5 separate regions of the Homo sapiens genome follow, and regions 2, 3, 4 and 5 are each linked to region 1. The links are contacts of gene promoters, found by promoter capture Hi-C in blood cells and fetal thymus (Javierre and others, 2016). All regions are on one chromosome and are shown on one strand. The core of a region is centred on a gene start or on the middle of the fragment in contact, and the rest is flanking DNA. Distances in the headings are between cores, read along the strand shown.

Region 1 (2,700 bases), core at 25-2,524:
GGAGCTTGAGGCTGCAATGAGCTGTGATCGCACCACTGCACCCTAGCCTGGGCTACAGAGCGAGATCCTGTCTCAAAAAAATAAAAACATAAAACAAAATTAATTTGAAAATAGCCCACCACCATGCTACGCTTTCCACATGGTTCCATCCAGAAGAGAAGTCTCCTCAATCACATGGCAACCCTGCTAATTCCCATCAATTATTCTCACAGTGAAAGTTATCAATTCCAGAAGAGAAAAATCAGCAACCTCCTCTGTAAAAGCTTTACAGAGACTTTTAGAGCCGAGTAAACAAGAGGGAGCAAAAGTTGAAACACGATGAAAATGCAACTAAAGCAATGCAGGACCTAGGCTGACTCTGGGGGTGACATCGAGGTTCCACATCCCAAAGGCAAGTCTAAATGTTGGGGTCTTCATGGACAGCTCCCAGACCTCTGATGACCCTCATGGTGCCGTTGTCAAAGGTAACATCCCAAATTATTGTAGATCTGTCTTCAGCAGGGATTTTTTTTTTTTTTTTTGAGACAGAGTCTCACTCTGTTGCCCAGGCTGGAGTGCAGTGGTGCGATCTCAGCTCACTGCAACTTCCACCTCCTGGGTTTAAGCGATTCTCCTGACTCAGCCTCCTGAGTAGCTTGGATTACAGGCACCCACCACCACACCCAGCTAGGGAATTTTTTTTTTAATGACATTGGGTAGCATCCCCCTTTGAGTCTTATAAATGATCTCCCTCAAACTTCTGCAGCAAGTGACTTCTTGGGCAAGTCATTTTCCCTGTTGGGCACATATGTAAGAGAGGGATTTGGCTTATAGATTGACATGTGTTCATTATCGTTTATTTCCACAAACCTTCACTGAGAGCATGCTTCGTGCCTTGGGGGCTCAAAAATGAAAGACACGTTCCCTACTCTCAGGAATTTCACAGGCTGGTGCGGGGAGACACACAGATAAGTAGACCATTCAAAAGTAGGTTTATGCTAGAGTGAGAGGGGCTGTGAAGAAGGGCTGAGCCCTAATGAGAGATCGGGGAAAGCTAGGGAAGATGTCCCAGTGTGAATCTTCCCTCTCCATTGCTCCAAACACCTCCTCAAAACCTGTGACTTGTAACCCTCTGCATGCCCTCCCAGTGCCTGGATCAAATGCTCAGCTTATGTGCCACACACTAGACTGATGTTATGCATGGATAAGCTCTTAGATATCCGGCTGGTTCTGTGCCCATCCCTCTGCCCCCACTGCAGAGAGGCCAATAAAACTCTTGTTCAGACTCACACTGCACACAGTATTCTGAACTCCTGGATCTACCACCTCCTGCTTCCCAAGGACCATGAAACTCCTGCTGCTGGCTCTTCCTATGCTTGTGCTCCTACCCCAAGTGATCCCAGGTAATCAGAGGTCAGGGAAGATACAAAAATAGAGGTATAGTGGGTTCTGGCTCATGAAAATTCCAATGTGTCACGGTACTCCCCAACATGGGCAGCTCCACAGTTCCCACACTGGGACTATGCTCCTGGCTGGGGTAAAACCTGGGAGTAGAGCAAGTTATCCTCAATAGACAGGGGCAGTCCCACCATCCAGAGTTGTCCTTGGTTCTATATTCCAAGTTGCCGCCTAAGAAACTAGGGGAAAGCTCGGCTCACATCTGTTCTCTTTCCAGATTGTGCCAGCTTTTGAAAATGATTCCTGCAGCCCACTTTGCTATGTTTTCTTGGCCCTAAAAGTCCTGCTATAGCTATAATGAGGTTCTTTTTGTTTTCTAATATTCTAGAATTTGGTGAACAAGTCAGAAAACACTGGTAGAGCTGTTACACGGAAGACAGAACTGGCTTTTCTTCTTCCTTCTACAGTGAAAATCTAAGCTTTTCATAATCACTGCTTTCTTAAGTATATCTAAAGGCATGACCAGAACTTTGAAATCACTGGTGAAGAGAGCCTGTTTCTCCTTTATGTTTTTCAAGGTGCATTTCAATGTATGATCGAACTTACATAAAAATGAATCTAAATATTTCTGTTTTATAACGAAGTAAGCACACTCCCTGCATGGCTATGCAGCACTCTTGTGTTTTTTTTTTTTTTTTTTTTTGAAGATGGAATCTCAATCTGTCACCCAGGCTGGAGTGCAGTGGCGCAATCTCAGCTCACTGCAACCTCTGCCTCCTGGGTTCAAGCAATTCTCCTGCCTCAGCCTCCCAAGCAGCTGGGATTACAGGCATGCACCATCATGTCCGACTAATTTTTGTATTTTTAGTAGAGATGGGGTTTCACCATGTTGGCAAGGCTGGTCTCAAACTCTTGACCTCGGGTGATCCATCCGCCTCGGTCTCCCAAAGTGCTGGGATTACAGGCATGAGCCACCGCACCCGGCCCTATGCAGCACTCTTCTTTCACTTATTATTTTGTGGCCATCTTTCCATGTCACCATCTAAAGATCTGCCTTATTGTTTGTAAAGTTGTATAGTTCTGCTGTAGGATAAGCCATATAAAGTCATATATAGCCATTTGAGACATTTCTTAATTTTCGAACAAGACATCAATGAATATGCTTGTACAAACATTAATATATTTACATATATGGATATGGGCTTAAATAGGATAGATTCCTAGAGGGCAAATAACCAAGTTAAATGTAAGTCTGGTGGGGGTGGGCAAGAAAATTAAAAATATATATTTGTTCCATTAATTCCTCTATTCCTCTGCCCTCAT
Region 2 (2,700 bases), core at 101-2,600, 68 kb before region 1:
ACATCCCTCAAAAGAAGATATATAAAAGACAAACAGGCATGTGAAAAGGTGCTCAACATCATTGATCATCAGAGAAATACAAATCAAAACTACAACGAGATATCATGTCACCCCAGTTAAAATGGCTTTTATCTAAAAGACAGGCAATAATGAATGCTGACAAAGGTGTAGAGAAAAAGGAGCCCTCATACACTGTTGGTGGGAATTTAAGTTAGTATGACCACTGTGGAGAACAGTTTGGAGGCTCCTCAAAACACTAAAAATAGAGGTATTATAGGATCCAGCAATCCCACTGCTGGGTACATCCCCAAAAGAAAGGAAATCAGTACATTGAAGAGGTATCTGCACTACCATGTTTGTTGCAGCACTGTTCACAACAGCTAAGATTTGAAAGCAACCTAAGTATCCATCAACAGATGAATGGATAAGGAAAATATGGTACATATACTCAAAGGAATACTATTCAGTCATTAAAAAGAATAAGATGCTGTCATTTGCAACAATGTGGATGGAACTGGAATTCATTATGTTAAGTGAAATAAGCCAGCACAGAAAGACAAATATCACATGTTCTCACTGATTTGTGGTATCTAAAACTCAAAACAATTGAATTTCTGGACATAGAGAGTAAAATGATGGTTACCAGAGGCTGGGAAGGGCAGTGGGGATGTAGGGGTAAGTGGGAATGGTTAATGGGTACAAAAAAAAAAAGAATTAATAAAACCTACTATTTGATAGCACAACAGAGTAACTATAGTTAATAATAACCTAACTGTACGTTTTAAAACAACTAAAAGAATGTAATTGGATTGTAAATGCCTGAGGGGATGGATACCCCAATCTCCATGATATGATAATTACACATTGCATGCCTGTATCAAAACATCTCATGTATCCCATAAATATATACACCTACTATGTACCCACAAAAATTTATTTTAAAAACAGTATAAATAATAAACAACTTTTAAAAATAAATAAAATAAAATACAATCATAAAGACTTTAACAATGTAAAGAAGAGTAAAATCAGTGAGGACTGCTGTAATCCAGGAATCTGGAAGAGCAACAGCACAGAAGAATAAAAGGAAAGATGGAAATAAAAATAAAATAAGTAATTAAATTAAATTAAAATACAATAAATGTATCTACCCCCTTGGCCTTGGTAATTTAAAACATACTCTGAGGAGACAGTTCTCTATTTTTATCTATTATGTTTGTACAGCAGGAAAATTAATTTCCATAAAACAGAGTAAACCTGGTGAAAGGTCTTTAGTGTATTTAATCTAAATGGAATAGTTTCTCTTTATCATTTTTTTCTAGGGCATATTCTTCCAAACACAAGAAATTTTAGTGCAAATGATTTGAGGGCTTAATCTTATATGGAGGCAATTTAATAGAGTTTCAGGAATCTCTGTAGAAAATCTAGAGGCACATAGAAACTCTGGTATTTGGTTGCTTTTTAAGTTTGAAAATAAATACAACTGTTTTTCTAATTTTTTTTTGTCTTTTTGCCAGTGGGTTTTTTACATGAATCTGAAAGGGCTTCTGAGGGTTATTTATTTATTTATTTTTGCCTTTGAGTTTCATTGATGATGCTTTTTAGTCTCTTATAGGTCTTTCTGTGAATGAGAAGTTAGAATTTTGATTTCTTTTGTAAGCCTCTTCTTTCCACAAATACTATGACTGCTTTCTGGCCAAAATGGGAAATTTCCAGATTTTTCTCTTAGATATTTTGGGACATCCTGTCCTCAGGACAAAGCAGGAAAAAAGCCCACTAGTTGGGGGGGTAATTTCTGGTCACCAATTCCAAATTATATCGAGTAATACCACAGTAGTTTAATATAAGCTAAACAGAAATGGAATTTCTTCTTGGTCATTCAACTGAGGACCCCACTCTGTGGGGTCTAACCTAAAAGAGTAATCTGATTTTTCTCAGGTACACATGGTAAGGGTTAACAGACAAGCAAAAAATATGGTCAGACTCATCCGATAGTCTCTACTGGAAAATACAAAGCATTTCTGAGCTCAAGTTGGGAGCAATGGTATCTTTGGGCAGCAGATATGGAGAAAAATCTGAAAGTACAGTCATGTGTGAATTCAGCCCACATCCTATATTCCACCTCCATTCTTCCTAGGATCTTACAAACAATGCCAAATTGTTCCACAAGAATGACCAGACTCAAAAGTTTTAAATAAGTGTTTGCCATTTATAAGAACTGCTTTTCAGAAAGAAAAGTTGTGGGTGCTAATTACTGAGGATAGGAAGATGACAGAAAAGCTGGGTAAACAGATTTGGAGTTAATTTTTGGGACATCTTGAGCCTGAAATGGCTGAGTAATCCAAGAGATTAGAACAAATATGTAATTCGATATGTAAGTCACAGAACAAGAGAAAAATCCTGCTGACTTCATATTCGTGTTTCTTTCTCAATACACGTGGAGGCAGGGAAATAGCAATCTATACCTTAAACCTGAAATTCACAACAATTTTTCTTCTCCAAATACTTCCAAAGTAGAAAGTCTGGAAACATTATATCTCAACTATGCTACTGAATCCAAGGCCAATACTTTCTTCCAAATTTTAAATTTTTTTTCTTTTTTTTTCTTTTTTTTGAGACAGAGTCTCACTCCATCACCCAGGCTGGAGTACAGTGGCACCATCTCAGCTCACTGCAACCTCCACCTCCCAGGTTCAAGTG
Region 3 (2,700 bases), core at 187-2,686, 120 kb before region 1:
AAAAAAAAAGTTTTTTCTTTTAAGCTCTTTATAGTTTATAGCAATTTGGTGAAATATACTTTTGTAAACAAAAATTGAGACTTTTGATTTTCCTCCATGTGTAATCCCTCCAGAATTTGGAAACTATTTGTGAGTATTCTTATTCTTATGGCCTTATGGCTATTTGCATAAGTTCAATAAGACTTAGTTCTCTTTATAACAGGATACAACTGAAAACACAAATTGTATTTCCAAGGCTTTGACTGGAATGTCATATTTACAAATGTGCATAGACTTCTTGGCTTCAAGGTTTCCCAACCTTATAATGAATGAGTAAAAGTTTTCACTTCTGGGTAGACCCAGGAACCTCAAGATATTAGATACAGCAGGTAAAATTCAATGACTGCCTTGGTTTGGCTTCCTAGCATTGAGAGGTTTTTAAAAATCTAATCTGAGATTCCTTGTAAAAATTTCCAGCAAAACAACTTTAAAAGAAGCCTATGTAGTTATTCTTGCTTCATTATGTTAATAATCAGGCCAAGTTTGAGAATAAACTTACTTTGCAAACAAATTTTTGTGAATAACTAGGAAGTAAGTTATTTGAGCTATTTGTAATATACCAACATTTTATGACTATATATTTCACAATTTTTAGACATTGTGAAAAAAATTGTTCTTGAAAAAACAAGTTTTTTGCTCCTCAAAGAAGTTTTTTTAATTTACTAACAGAGATTCAAATATATTTAGTTTGTCTACATCATATAGAAACAAAATGCCAAAGTATACAAACTTAAAGCTTATACTTAATAATTAATGTTTTAGTATTTTAACTTATTTAGCAATTACCAAGACATTTAACTGGTATATATTATGTAATTCTGCTTTAAGATTTCAAATTACCAAAAACATTTTTTGAAACTATGAGGAGTTTATTTGTGAACACTTATGCCTAATTTACTTGTTTTTGACAATCATGTTTGAACTGTTTATAAAACTTCTGTAAGGCATTGAACAAAACTCTCCATCATCTCAAGTTATTTCTCTGCTAACAATTTCTACAGCATGCAAATGATAGGCAAGAACTCTAAAGTTAAATACATGAGTATTTTTGCTGATCAGAAGACATGGCTGCTTTTCAAATACGTTGACTCTTGAACGGCATGGGTTTGAACTGCACAGTTCCACTTATATGTGGATTTTTTTTTTGCCTCTGCCACCCTGCCACAGGAAGACTAACCCCTCCTTTTTCTCCTCCTCAGCCTAGTCAATGTGAAGACAATGAGGATGAAGACCTTTATGATGATCCATTTCCATTTAATGAATGGTAAATATATATTTTCTCTTCCTTATAATTTTCTTAATAACATTTTATTTTGTCTAGCTTACTTCATTGTAAGAATACTGTATATAATACATTTAAGATACAAAATATATGTTAATTGACTGTTTATGTTATTTACAAGGCTTCCAGTCAATAGTAGGCTGTCAATTTAAATAACAGAGAGTGGCTCTCTAAAAATACATATATATATTTATTTGGGAATAAAACATTACAGTGGAAATACACATGCCGCAGTAAACTATGTGCATATTCAGGGAAGTCAAGGATGACAAAGGCTTTTAAAGGAAAAAATGAGGAGGATGACATAATTATTTTGAAATAATTATCCTTGATTACAAAGATCAATAATAAGGGTGATGCCAGTCTGAAGTCCGACAGGTAGTTGCTAGGCAGATGTCCTTTTAGAAGTATTTTTTTGCATAAGGTTGCAGTGGCCTTTGTTTAAGGTTGTGGCTTTTGCAGTCTTTTGTGATGATTTTTGTTATCAGGCACACAAATATGAGAACCCTCTCTTCATGACCTTCCCTGGCTCTATTTGTCCGGATTTTCTTAACCCATTTTGATTTTGACAACTTTCACAAGGCTATTAGTAGTTAAGTTTTTGGGAAACTGTCGCAGATGAGTGACAACTATCTGGGCCAGTGGCACAGGGTTAAAATAATTTACTATGACAGATGTAGGTAAAGAAAGGCAGATTTATTAGAGAAAGTATGAAAATATGTTGCAAAGAAGCAATGAACAGAATCAGCACGAGAGGAGCTGACTGAAAGGAAACAAAAGCTTGCTGGAGATTTTAAAGAATGGTTCTTGGGCTGCAGAGTGCTGCGAGCAGTACTCATAACCCCAAAGTTGCAGTGAGCTAACTTGCAAGTGTCTGGTGATAGCTGGGCTCAGGAAGATTATGAGTTATTTGCACAGGAGGGCTATGTGTCCTGGACCATGAATGTCATCAACATATTAATGACATTCTTTACAGAAATAGAAAAAACAATCCTTGTTTCTATTGAACTGCAAAAGACTTTTAATAACCAAAGCAATCTAGAGCAAAAACAGCAAATCTAAAGGTATCACACTACCTTACTTTAAAATATACTATAAAGATCTAGTGACCAAAATAGGTTGATATTGGCATAAAATCAGACACATAGACCAATGGAACAGAATAGAAAGACCAGAAACAAATCTGCACATCTATAGCCAACTGACTTTAAAAAAAATTTCCAAGGACACACATTGGGAATAGGACAGTCTCTTCGATAAATGGTACTAGGGAACTGGATAGCCACATGAACAAAAATGAAACTAGATCCTTATCTTTCACCATATTCAAAAATCAACTAAAAATGATTGAAAGACTTGAATGTAAGACTTGAAACTAA
Region 4 (2,700 bases), core at 183-2,682, 80 kb after region 1:
AAACAAAAACAAAAATAGGCCCGGCGCGGTGGCTCACACCTGTAATCCCAGCACTTTGGGAGGCCGAGGCGGGTGGATCACCTGAGGTCAGGAGTTTGAGACCAGCCTGACCAACATGGAGAAACCCCGTCTCTACTAAAAATACAGAATTAGCCAGGCGTGGTGGCGCATGCCTGTAATTCCAGCTACTCGGGAGGCTGAGACAGGAGAATCGCTTGAACCCGGGCGGTGGAGGTTGCGGTGAGCTGAGATTGCGCCATTGCACTCCAGCCTGGGCAACAGAGCAAGACTCCATCTCAAAAAAATAATAATAATAAAAATAAAAATAAATAAATGTTTAATTGAGAACAAAAGTTGTTTACATTTACCCATAGTTATCAGTTCTGATTCTCTTTACTCCTTTATGTAGACATCCAGATTTCCCTCTGGTACCATTTTCTTCTGCCTGAATAACTTCCTTTAGCATTTCTTGTAGTGAAAGCTTTCAGTGATCAATGTTCTCCGTTTTCAAATACATGAAAAAGTCTATTTCTCCACTTTTAGAATATTTTTCCTCTGTAAAGAATTCTGGGCTTTTTTCCTTTTATTACTTTAAAGATCTCTCTCTACCATCTTCTAGTGTGCAGTTTCTGACAATAAGTCTTCTGTGTTGGTTTTTTTTTTTCCTTTCTTTGAGACGGTTTCACTCTGTCACTTAGGGTAGAGTGCAGTGGCGTGACCACAGCTCACTGCAGCCTCGACCTCCCAGGCTCAAGTGATCCTCCCACCTCAGCCTCCCTAGTAGCTGGGACTACAGGTGCACACCAACACACCCGGCTTTTTTTTTTTTTTTTTTTTTTTTGAGACGGAGTCCCGCTCTGTCGCCCAGGCTGGAGTGCAGTGGCGCTATCTCGGCTCACTGCAAGCTCTGCCTCCCGGGTTCACGCCATTGTCCTGCCTCAGCCTACCAAGTAGCTGGGATTACAGGCGCCTGCCACCATGCCCAGCTAATTTTTTGTGTTTTTAGTAGAGACGGGGTTTCACTGTGTTAGCCAGGATGGTCTCGATCTCCTGACCTCATGATCCGCCCACCTTGGCCTCCCAAAGTGCTGGGATTACAGGCGTGAGCCACCACGTCTGGCCTAATTTTTTTATTTTTTTGGAGAGACAGGGTCTCACCTAGGCTGGTCTCAAACTCTTGGGCTCAAGCAATCCTCCCATCTCAGCCTCCCAAAGTGCTGGGATTTCAAGTGTGAGCCACCACACCCAGCCTCTTCCAGTATTTTTACCTTTTCTCCTATGTACATAACGTGTCTTTTCTTCTGGCTTTTTAAAGATTTTTTTCCTTTCACTTGATTTTGCAATTTGATTATTATGTGCCTTTGCATGCTTCTCTTTTGGTTTTATTCAGCTTGTAGTTCACCGAGGGTCATGGTTCTATGGGCTTAGAGTTTTCATCAAACTTGAAATTTTTCAGCCATTATTACTTCAAATACTTTTCCTGCCCCTCCCCTCTCCTCTCCTTTTAGTATTCCAATTATATGCATGTTAGACTACTTGTTATTGTCCCATGGGTCACTGACACTCTGCTCTTTTTTCCCCCCATCTTTTTCTCTCCATGTTTCACTTTGGATGATTTCTGTTGCTATGTCTTCAAGTTCATTTATCTTTTCTTCTTCAGTCTAACCTACTATTAATCTCACTTAGTATGTTTTTCATTTAATATTTAATGTTTCATCTCAACTATTCCATGTGAATATATACATATATATATTTTTTTTTCTTTGAGACAGAGTTTCGCTCTTGTTGCCTAGGCTGAAGTGCGATGGCACGATCTCAGCTCACTGCAACCTCCACCTCCCAGGTTCAAGCGATTCTCCTGCCTCAGTCTCCTGAGTAGCTGGGATTACAGGCATGTGCCACCACGCCCAGCTAATTTTTTTTTTTTTTTTTTTTTGTATTTTTAGTAGAGATGGGGTTTCTCCACGTTGGTCAGGCTGGTCTCGAACTCCTGACCTCAGGTGATCCACCCACCTTGGCCTCCCAAAGTGCTGGGATCATAGGCTTGACCCATCGTGCCCGGCCATGAATATTTTTTACATCTTTATTTCTTCTCATCATGCTCATGGCTTCCTCCACCTTTTTTACTACTTGGAGCATATTTATCATAGCTGTTTTATCATCCTTGTCTGCTAGTTTCATCATCATTGTCATTTCTGTGTTGGTTGATTTGTTTTTCTCCTGGTTATGGGTCATATTTTCCTGCTTTTTTTTTTTGTATGCCTGAAAAATATTTTTACACTTTCAGTTTCTGTATTTTGTTACACTCCTTTAAAGAGTTAGATATTTTTCTTGCATGCAGCTAAGTTAGTGGGAATCAGATGAATATTTTCAAGACTGACGTTTAAGCTTTGTTAGGATGGGTACAGGGTATTCTTTAGTCTAGGGTTAATTTAGCCCCCACTACTAAGGCAATAGCCTTCCGAGTACTAAATGCTGCAGATTTTACAGGGTCTTTCCACTCAGGCAGGTGGAAACACAAGCTATTCCCAGACCTGTGCAATCACTGGGAATTGTTCTGCTTACTTCTTTTTGGTGTTTGGTATTTTTCTCCCCCTCAGGCCTTTGGTAGTTTCCTCTTGCACATGCACAGAAAGGCACTTAAAGACTACAGGGTGGGCCAGGCATAGTGGCACATGTCTGTTGTCCTAGCTCCTCGGG
Region 5 (2,700 bases), core at 4-2,503, 97 kb before region 1:
GAAGACCTTAGCAGCCAACACCATCAAAGACCTCAGCAATCCTCACTGCCACTGCTGGCATCCACAGTATTGGTCACTAAGGATTCCTGCAATTTTAATCAACACCAGCATCAGTTGACAGAGCTGCACAGACATTATACCACTGTACCTTCAGTGATGCCAGAACAGTTACCCTTCACTCAGAAAGCACCCTTGCACTCCCCTCCCTCCATAGAGGCAGGTCTTTCCACACCAGAATTAACCTGTAAAGTCTGAAAAAGGTGATTGCTCCATCAAATATGATGATATTAACATAAGAAACATTTAAAAACCAAGGACACATAATAACAAAGAATATGATAATTTCCTAGTACCTGGTCCCCTAAAGAAATGGAAATATACAAACTGTGTGACAAAGAAATCAAAATAATTGTTTTAAAGAAGCTAAGCAGGCTGGGTGCGGTAGCTCATGCCTGTAATCCCAGCACTTTGGGAGGCCGAGGTGGGTGGATCACCTGAGGTCAGGAGTTCAAGACCAGCCTGGCCAACATGGTGAAGCCCTGTCTCTACTAAAAATACAAAACTCAGCTGGGTGTGGTGGCAGACACCTGTAGTCCCAGCTACTTGGCAGGCTGAGGCAGGAGAATTTCTTGAACCTGGAAGGTGGAGTTTGCAGTGAGCTGAGATCGTACCACTGTACTCCAGCTTGGGTGATAAAGTGAGACTGTCTCAAAAAAAAAATAAAAATAATAAGTAAATAAATAAAGCAGCTCAGCAGACTCCAAGAAAATACAGAGAAGCAATTCAGTAAAATCAGGAAAACAATAAATGACAAAATGAGAAATTTAATAGAAATTGAAATTGTTTTAAATTATAGAGCTGAAATACACAATGAATAAATAAAAAATACAATAAAAAGCATCAACAGCAAAATTGATCAAACAGAAGAAAGAATCTGTAAAATTGAAAACATACAGTCAAATGAGAAAAATAAACAAAAAGAATGAAAAAACATTACAGGATTTATGAGACAGCACCAAAAGAACAAATATTCAAATTATAAGTTTCTGAAGAAGAAGAGAGAGCCAAAGGAGTAGAAAGCTTATTTAAAGAAATAAGAGTAAAAAACTTCCCAAATCTGGAAAAAGATATAAATATACAGATACAAGAAGGTTAAAGGTTTTGAATCAGATTAAACTCAAAAAGACTACATGAAGACATACACTCAACAGTCAAAAATCAAAGACAAAGGGAGCATCTTGAAAGCAGCGAGAGAAAATATGCAAATAACTTGTAATGGAGTTCCAATAAGGCTAGCAACAGATTTCTCAGTAAAAACCTTACAGACCAGGAGAATGCAATGATATATCCAAAGTGTTGAAGAAAAAAAACTGCCAACCAAGAATACTTTATGCAGGAAATCTGCACTCCACAAATGAAGGAAAGATAAAGCTTTCCTAGACACAGAAAAGCTGAGGGAGTTTATCAGCACAAGGCTTGCCTTACAAGAAAGACTAAAGGGAATTATTTCTAATGAAATAAAAGGATGCTACTTAGTAAGACTATAATGTTTGAAAGTACAAAACCCACTGGTAAATATAGATCATGATGGCTGACTAGAAGCATCCAGAACTTACCACTTTTACAGAGAAGGACTAAACAGTATTAGGTTGGTGCAAAAGTAAATGTGGTTTGGGGCGTTAAAGGTAATGATAGAAAACTTCAATTACCTATGAACCAACATAATAGATAACCACATATCAAATAAAGTGTCTAGAAGAGAATGCTGGAATCCAGCAGAGAAGCAACAGGGACTCTGAGGCACAAAAGCTCAAGATGGCAGCATAGAGAAGGAATCAAGGCAGCCAGCTGAATCAGCTCAGAGCCAGGAGGAACTCCGCATTGTTGGGAAAAAGGTAACTGAAAGATACGTATCAGTCCACACTCCCACCAGAAATGCCTGAAGTTCTAACTGCAGAAAAGCTCCTAGACCCTCACATGTCCTGAGCCTAGTCTGGAAAGCTGCCTGGAATCCACGTGACTGCATTTGTTCCAGGGAGAGAATTTGCACAGGGGCCCATCCCTGGAATGCAGGCTGCTATAGTATGGTGCCATTTTGAGAGCAAATACAACAACAGACTATATCCCGCCATGGAGACCAATAGCTCCTGCATCTCCACAACCCTGAGACCTCACCAATATCCACCCACACCCACTCAAAGGGCTGCAGCATCATAGTGCTGGCTAAGCCCAGTGGCACAACCACACTGCCAGCATCTGAGACCACACAACATCCCACACCCCAGGGAACAGATGGTCCAACACAACCGGTATACTGGCTCAAGGACATAGAGAACCAAAGTGTGAGCTCCCCAGAGCCTGAGAGCAACCTTCCTGGACCTGCTGCCACCAACAGCAACCTCACTCCTCTCCAGCAGTGGGGCCATGAAACACCATAAATACCACCCAAGGGCCCAGAGACTTACCTGCCCAACCCACTACAGAAACCACCAGCTCCCAACTACTCCACTCAGGAAATGAAACCAGTCCACTCACCCAACTAGAGATATTGCCAGCACTTGGGTGCCCACCTGGGGGCCCAAGGAGGAACTGCCCAGCCAGCATTTACACTCTGCTTGAGTAACCAAGGACCATCCCACTCAGGGCATTACACTGCCACTGCTGGTGCCTGTGCATCCGACCTGGGGCCCAAAGACTAGC

Evidence for each region. Contacts are between HindIII fragments. The CHiCAGO score rates a contact against its expected background, and 5 or more counts as called.
Region 2: a fragment that was not itself captured here is called in contact with the fragment with the promoter of DEFB118 in region 1 in 3 of 17 cell types (naive B cells, naive CD8 T cells and total B cells); the score reaches 5.7 in naive B cells.
Region 3: a contact is called between a fragment that was not itself captured here and the fragment with the promoter of DEFB118 in region 1, in 3 of 17 cell types (endothelial precursors, erythroblasts and M1 macrophages). The highest score is 5.5, in endothelial precursors.
Region 4: a fragment that was not itself captured here is called in contact with the fragment with the promoter of DEFB118 in region 1 in 2 of 17 cell types (erythroblasts and endothelial precursors); the score reaches 10.1 in erythroblasts.
Region 5: a fragment that was not itself captured here is called in contact with the fragment with the promoter of DEFB118 in region 1 in 4 of 17 cell types (M1 macrophages, total B cells, total CD8 T cells and 1 more); the score reaches 6.0 in M1 macrophages.

What each region holds. Positions count from the first base shown.
Region 1 is chr20:31,367,327-31,370,026 of GRCh38, forward strand. DEFB118 (defensin beta 118) reads left to right here and starts at 1,275. Exons shown (of 2, transcript NM_054112.3): 1 at 1,275-1,382. The coding sequence starts at 1,325. The HindIII fragment of the contact is 1,593 bases long and covers 262-1,854 here.
Region 2 is chr20:31,299,034-31,301,733 of GRCh38, forward strand. No RefSeq gene overlaps it. Among named protein-coding and RNA genes, the nearest start is that of DEFB116, 8.2 kb to the right of the region's middle. The HindIII fragment of the contact is 3,064 bases long and covers 1-2,700 here.
Region 3 is chr20:31,249,717-31,252,416 of GRCh38, forward strand. No RefSeq gene overlaps it. Among named protein-coding and RNA genes, the nearest start is that of DEFB115, 6.6 kb to the right of the region's middle. The HindIII fragment of the contact is 1,326 bases long and covers 774-2,099 here.
Region 4 is chr20:31,446,964-31,449,663 of GRCh38, forward strand. The region is part of intron 1 of DEFB123 (defensin beta 123); the gene reads left to right. Among named protein-coding and RNA genes, the nearest start is that of DEFB123, 7.7 kb to the left of the region's middle. The HindIII fragment of the contact is 1,907 bases long and covers 480-2,386 here.
Region 5 is chr20:31,270,061-31,272,760 of GRCh38, forward strand. No RefSeq gene overlaps it. Among named protein-coding and RNA genes, the nearest start is that of DEFB115, 14 kb to the left of the region's middle. The HindIII fragment of the contact is 351 bases long and covers 1,079-1,429 here.